2 separate regions of the Homo sapiens genome follow, and region 2 is linked to region 1. The links are contacts of gene promoters, found by promoter capture Hi-C in human tissues and cell types (Jung and others, 2019). All regions are on one chromosome and are shown on one strand. Each heading gives the region's core, a stretch centred on a gene start or on the middle of the fragment in contact. The rest is flanking DNA. Distances are from core to core; before and after follow the strand shown. Region 1 holds the start of IRF5 (interferon regulatory factor 5). Region 2 overlaps TNPO3 (transportin 3).

Region 1 (3,633 bases), core at 288-2,787:
AACCCAGGAGAAGGGAGGGGAGGGAAGGTCAAAGTTCTGATTCATCAACAAATACTACTTTATTTGTTAAAAATACAAGGCTCTGCTTGGCGCAGTGGCTCCCGCCTGTAATCCCAGCACTTTGGGAGGCCAAGGCGGGTGGATCGCCTGAGGTCAGGAGCTCGAGACCAGCCTGGCCAACATGGTGAAACCCCGTCTCTACTTGGGAGGCTGAGGCAGGAGAATCGCTTGAACTGGGGAGGCAGAGGTTGCAGTGAGCTGAGATCGCACTGCTGCACTCCAGCCCGGGTGACAGAGCAAGACTCCATATCAAAAAATAAAATAAAATAAAATGAACAATGAAAAGACAGGAGGGAGGTTCCTGAGTAAGCTGATTCGAGTGGAAATCAGACATCAAAATTGAAACCCGCTGAATTTTCCAAAAAGCCAGATGCTCATAGAACTGAAGCTTGAGACACTTACATCAGTACACCTGCTGCCTGTTGACCAATTCCTCTTCCTTGTCCCTCCTGTTTTCCTTCCCTGCTATATAAGCCCCTAACTTTAGTCAAGGGGAGGGATGGATTGGAGGTTTGTCTCCCCTCTCAACAGCTCACTGGCTGATGTCACCGGAATAAAGTCTTCCCTGGCAATACTCGCTGTCTCAGTGATAGGCTTTCTGTGCGGTGAGCAGCCAGACCTGGACCAAACCCCTGGCAATCCATAACAAAATCATAAGCAAAATCAACCAGGAAGCTATTTGCACCCTGGAACCCCACCTGGGAGGGGAAGTCAAGGCAGACTTTCCAGAGAAGGCGATGCTGAAAATTTCAGAAACAGAAATTTTGAAGAGCAAGAGTTACCAAGCGAAGAACATTCCATGAGAAGGAACAGGAGGTGTGTGAAGGTGGAGGTTCTGGGGTGAGGTTCTTTATGGAATCGAAAACGGTTCAGAACCACAGGTCGACGGTCAAGGTAGTAGTGAGAGGAGGTGGGACAGGCGACCACGCCGCTGCCCCTGGGATGACTGGAAGGCGACTTAGGGGAGCTGGGGCGAGACAGGTGCAGGGTTTGAGGATGAGAAAGGCACAGAGTGACTAGAGGATTCCCGCCTGCAAGCACATCTGGAAGGGGTGTCTGGATCCTGGGGGCAGCGACTGTGTTCTAGGGCGAGAGCCACCCTCGCCAGGGGTGTAGGCAGGCGAGAGGAGGGCCTGGAGCTGTGGGTCGGCCACACTGCGCCCTCATTTGTGTGCAGCCCCGGAGGACCAGAGTGGGGAAGCACCCCACCCTCTCCCAGGGCCCAACTGAGCACTGCAGCGGGAGGTACGGGGTTGTCAAATGACAGTTTTGCCATTCCAGATTGCCAAAAGAGCCAGTGGCCAGTCTAGGGCACCGCGCCGTCTGGCATCTCCCTGGAGGCCCTGGGCCTGGCCCGAGGCTCAGCCCGGATCTGCAGTTGCCAGGTCAGTGCGGGGCCCGGAGTGGATTCGCGGGGCGGGGCGGGGCACTGCCCGCGCCCGGAGCTCAGCAGCAGCTGCCCAGGGGCGGGGGCGGCAAGACGCGGAAGTGCCCGGCAGGTTGGCGGACCGGCGGGAGGCGCAGCCTGGGCAGAGCTCAGCTTGGTCCCGCCGCCCGGCCGGTGCTCCCTGGCGCAGCCACGCAGGCGCACCGCAGACAGGTGGGTCCCGGCCGCCGCGCTCTCCTCTCTGCGTCCGCGCCCGGCGCGCCCCGAGGGTGGCGGGAGCGGTGCCGGCTACTGCCCCCAAGTCTAGGCCTAGACTGGGCCCCGCGCCCCCCAGGCACCTGCGGGCGGCGGGATGAAGACTGGAGTAGGGCGGGGTCCGCGTCCAGCTGCGCCTGGAAAGCGAGCTCGGGTGGGTGCCTACAGCAGGGTGCGCCCGGCCGGCCTGGGACTTCCAAAGCGCCTCCCACGCCCCGATCGGTTTGGGGTGCTGGCGCCCGGGGAGCCCAGTGACCCAGGCGGCGGAGTGGGCAGCGCTGCGGGGGGCGCCGGCTCTGCTGCTCTCCCTCCCCCTCGCCATCGCCCAGAATGGGGGTTCCCGGGAGCCCCGCTGGAGGCTGGCTTGGACCACAGAGGAGCGAGGCCCGATCCTTACTTTCGATGCACTCGCCCTTGCTCTTACCGGGCCACCCTCACCCTTTCGGAAAAGAGGTTGAGGTTAAAGCGTTCATCCCCCGGGATCTTCAGGCCAATGGCAGGAACTGTGCAAGAGTTTGGGGGAAGATGGTGTCAGGTAGAGGCTGCGTCCCTGGGCTCGCGGCCGGGAATGGCAGACTCTCGTCCCCCGAGCAGCGGAAAAGGATGGGGCGCAATAGTTCCTGGGCTGGTTTCCTCAGGTCCTGTCCCAGAACTTAAGAAGGCAACAATGAAGAGGCTAAACGTGGAGGAAAAGTGAGGCTAGCATGGCCGGGATGCGTGGGGAGATGGTTGTCTCCGGACCCCGGGAGGGGCGGGAGCGGGTACCTGGGAGCAGAGGCTGGAGTGGGGGACTTTCCCAGCCTCGCGGCCACGCTGAACACAGCAGGGCGAGGACCGGGGTGCTGCTCCTCCAGCAGCAGGAGGAGAGGTCCAGAGGCCGACTCTGGAGGTGGGGGTGGCTCCGCGGGCTGGCCCAGGGGGTGTGCCCCAGCGGAGCACGCGGGAGGGGTGGGGGCGGAGGGGAGGGGGGAGCAGGGGCGGAGGACTGGGCTGGGCCTGGGCTCCTCGAGGGCCCAGAATGGGGATAAGTGACCAGAACCAGAGAGGGCTCGGCTGTATCGATGTAGGAAACTGTAGCCCCTCAGGAGGCCCTCTGGCAAGACCTCCCCTTCCTGCCCCCACCCCCAGTAGTTATGGGGCCTGGGGTGCTGGGGCTGAGGGGTTCCAAGAGTCAAGGGAAGCACTGGGAAATCACCCCTTTTTATCTAAAGGCCCTACTTTGGGGTTTTTCCCCTGTACCCTGGTCTTCCCCTACCCTGACCCTGGGAGGAAGCTGAAAGAAGCTTCTTTCTGGGCACCTTTTGCCCCAGAGCCTCAGCCTGTCTGGACCAGGTGGGCAGCAGGGCCCAGGGTGTGGGCAGCTGACCCGGAGGGGTGGGATTTGGGGGTCAGGGCCTGTACAGGGAACCCCTTGTCCTCTCCCTGAGCTGGGTGTGGGTTTGCAAGGAGACATGTGACCCAGACCAACCCTGGGAGCAGCAGGGCGCCTGCTGTCTGGCCACTCTTACTAGGACTGCTGTGGCACTTCCTCCCCTAGTGGGTCCCTGGTGCCCATGAATTGCAGCTCCTGGGTGGTGGTGGGGGCACTGTCTCCTGGGACTCCAGCATGGCCCTGGGGTGAGCTGTGGGCTTACCCCACCTCAGCAGGTCCTCTAGGGCTGCCCACTGGATGCTTCGCTGCCTCACACAATTGTAGGGACTTCCTCAGGCTGTTGGATTTCCCCACCTTCCGGGGCTCAGGTCCATTGACTTAGGTCTAGGGCTCCATACATTTCACCCAGAGACTCCGGAGCCTGGCAGGCAGACCTGTTCTGACACCGAACTTCCAAAGTCATGGGCCTTGATTGGGGTGGTCTGAATTAGACCTAGCCCTTTTCTGGGCAGAAGGGAGCTTCTAGGAGGATGGATGCTGTTCGGGTTAGAGCTCGTGT
Region 2 (3,633 bases), core at 627-3,126, 39 kb after region 1:
CTTTTTCAGAAATGCCACAGCATTCAGACTTGCCAAATATTTATTACAATAAGTACAAAAGGAACAAAGAAGAAAAGCACAGCTGGGAAAAGAAAAAGATTGTAATGAGAATCTGATCAGGAAAAGAAACACATAAATCCTTCCCAGTTGACATAAACAGTTTTCACCTATGAAGTCCACATTTAAGAAAGGGTTGAGAAAACAGATTTTAGCTGATAAAACTCAACAGATGTCATCTCAAAGTTTTAGAAATTTCTGAAAGCAAAGATTCTATTTAGGTATAGTCCACTAAGGGAGTGGAAGTTTTTATAATAATTATGAAATATCAATTTTAAATGAAAAGACATCTTGGGAAAAGAAACAACATTCTTCAACTCAATATTCCCCTCTGTGGCTGGAAGGGAGGGAAAAGCAGTATCTGAGGAGCTGTTTCCAATGCTATTATTAATTCTAAAACCCTCCCTGCTGCTAAGTAAACTAGTCAGTTGGCTGTTCCAGGCAAGAAGTTAAAAATACAATAATGCTTGAGCTTAGAGATTCATTTTTCTCACCTCCTCCCCCCTCCAAACACCCTATCTCTGGAAGAGCATAAACCAGGCAGTAACATGTAATAATCATTACACTCATGTGGTCAGTCTCTCATTCTCTCAAACAGGCCTGTTCAGAGAACAACTGGGAAGCTTCCACCTCCCTGTTATTAGGAAATCAACATGCCTGGGGGAAAACATAAAGAAGCAACAGAATTAAAGACATGGTAAAGAATACGCTGCTAGGCCTTCAGACCCTCTAGGCCTGATGCGTCTACACTCCTCATGGAAAAGATACCTGGAGCATGTCTAGCAGTCCCTGCCGACAGCCTTCTTCCATGCCATATTCATCCACAAGGATACTGCCAAGGTACAGGAAGCAGGAATGCTGATGTACGTGGTACACATTCACCATCTGTTGAGGGAAAAAACAATTAGTTCAATGCTTCGTCCTTCAAAAAGTACCAACTTACGAAGCTGTCTCCAGGAAGAAATTCAGAGATAGATTGGCTTCTTCTCTTTAAGGCAACATAGTATAAAGCTTCTTAGCACTATTTTGTGAAACACAGGGCTCAATATCTCAATGATTTTCAGGTTCTCTATTCTTCCAACCCTTTGACCTTTCATCTTCCCAAGACAATGCTGTATAAGAGTTAAAGCTAGAAGCTATCAGGGAACTCATGGATTATTTGCAAAACCCCAGCACAGAATATTTCATCCAGTACGTAAAAGTTGCTCTCATTTGCACTGTAGATAAGTCATACTTTTAAATAGGATATATAGCCACAGTTGGGAAAACAGTATCAAACACCTTCATCTTGGAGAAGACAGTGAAAGCATTGTTTAAATTTTGAGTTGCTCCTAAACCTATTTTATCTTTTAAGTAAAAAATAGTGTTTTCTACGAAGATATTTGGATTTCAACACAGCAAAAATTTTAACACAATATGCACATTATTATTTTTTTTTTAAGAGACTGGGTTTCGCTCTGTTGCCCAGGCTGGAGTGCAGTGGTGAGATCTTGGCTCACTGTGGCCTCAACCTACCAGGCTCAAGGGATCCTCCCACCTCAGCCTCCCGAGCAGCTGGGACTATAGGTGTGCACCACCATGCCCGGCCACGATATGCGCTTAAATGATTTGTTTAGAATTTTTACTCCACTATCCTCCCAGAATTAAGAAACAATTGTACACTCACCTATTTAAAATGCCACCACAGTACATATGTATTGATCTTATTACATAAATTCAACTCTATGAACTTGGGACTGAAAGGATACAGTAACTTAATTCTTCTGTTGGCATATGCCATGGAATGAGCATGAGATGGGAGCTATGAATCCATTCCATGTTGTAAACTCAAAATTATATGCTCTACTAAGGAATGATTAAGTCAAGGGTTGCCAAACATTTTCTTAAAGGGCTACTTTGTAAAAAGTATAGATCTTATCCACCATTCAGTCTTCTGCCCACTCAAGTTTGCCAGTGTAGCACAAAAATGACCAATAGATAATACGTAAATGAATTATGGCTATAGCTCAGTAAAACATTAAAAAAAACACAAAAACAAAAATAGGTGGCAAGGCCACTGACTATCAATTGCTGGCTCCTGAGTTAAGGGATTTTTTAAGGATAATTTTCATTTTTGTCACATGTACTGACTCTAGAACACACTTCCTATATAATAGTGCTACCTACTCTATTGGGTTAGTCATATACTTAACTGGCAGGAATTAAAAAACAGTATCAAAGTCATGAGGGTATCCTCCAACAGCAAAGGGGCAGTCTATCAAGTTGTAGTAGACCCAGAATGTATTGCACTGAAGGGGACACTTGACCAGAGGTGGCAATCGCCTAAATGCGAACATACATTATTGTGCTCAGCATATAGTGAAAGTAGAGAAATCACTAAAAATTAAAATTCTGTTGAAATATTTACCTGTACAATCTTTAATCAAATCTATAATTTAGAGAGGCAAGGTTATCCAAGTACCAACACCGCACCAGCATGCCTGTGCCTGTGGTTGAGGGCACCTATGATGCAGAATTTAAGGGGGAACTCATTCTTTTTTTCTTTTTTCTTTTTTTTTTTTTTTGAGATGGAGTTTCACTCTGTCACCCAGGCTGGAGTGCAGTGGCACGATCTCAGCTCACTGCAACCTCCACCCTCCGGGTTCAAATGATTCTCCTTCCTCAGCCTCATGAATAGCTGGGACTACAGGCGCCTGCCACTGCGCCTGGCTAATTTTTTGTATTTTTAGTAGAGATGGGGTTTCACCATCTTGGCCAGGCTGGTCTTGAACTCCTGACCTCGTGATCCACCCACCTCGGCCTCCCAAAGTGCTGGGATTACAGGCGTGAGGCACTGCACCTGGCCAGGGGGAACTCATTCTTAAGGCCAGGACCTCCTTAAAATCTGCACCCTAGGTGCTCTCCTCTCCCTAGGTGGAGCATGGTCACTTCAGGTTGGGTGGGGTATGACTCTAGCCTGGAGCTCTGTGACTGTTTTCCTCACAGCATGGGTACAAAATTTCAGAAAGCACCTCAGAGTCCTGCAAATGCAGGATTGGCACTTTGCCTTGTGTCCCTAAATCTTGTGCCCTAGGCACTGGCATCCTGGCCCTGCTCTAAGGTTAACATCAACACAATTACTTAGTGACTTAAGCATAGGCATCTCATACAGTTCTAGATGAGAATATGATTTTAGAGAACATCATTTAGTGAGTCATACCATCATAATTACATATCAATCTTAATGACTAAAAGAGTCAAATTTATTTTTTGACAAGAGACTTCTGTGGACAACTAACTGTGGCCAAGATTGAAGAAAATCCCTTTGGGCAAAGAAACAGCAAAGTCTGACTTGCTACATTTTTTCCCCAAGGATCTCAATATAAAAATGCTTACCATTAGTATATAAGTACTGAGCCCAAGTCATTCGCTTCACAGAATTTCACAATGGACTGTGTTGCTACTTAGAATACTGCTATAGCTACTATACAGAAGCGATTTTAGGCTGTTTCCCTTATAGACAATGTACCTATCACAGGCACTAATCTCTTTCAAGTGTTTTTTTAGTTTGTTAATAAATACAAAAGTGTTTCATTT

The links. Contacts are between HindIII fragments. The study calls those that stand out against the background at their distance.
Region 2: a contact is called between a fragment that was not itself captured here and the fragment with the promoter of IRF5 in region 1, in 4 of the 25 tissues and cell types used here (IMR-90 fibroblasts, lymphoblastoid cells, mesenchymal stem cells and 1 more).

What each region holds. Positions count from the first base shown.
Region 1 is chr7:128,936,390-128,940,022 of GRCh38, forward strand. IRF5 (interferon regulatory factor 5) reads left to right here and starts at 1,538. Exons shown (of 9, transcript NM_001098629.3): 1 at 1,538-1,660. RefSeq lists enhancers at 1-160, 1,828-2,411, 2,445-2,514 and a silencer at 1,405-2,164. The HindIII fragment of the contact is 4,364 bases long and covers 1-1,716 here.
Region 2 is chr7:128,974,994-128,978,626 of GRCh38, forward strand. It overlaps TNPO3 (transportin 3), which reads right to left. Exons shown (of 23, transcript NM_012470.4): 17 at 826-942. Among named protein-coding and RNA genes, the nearest start is that of IRF5, 39 kb to the left of the region's middle. The HindIII fragment of the contact is 5,983 bases long and covers 1-3,633 here.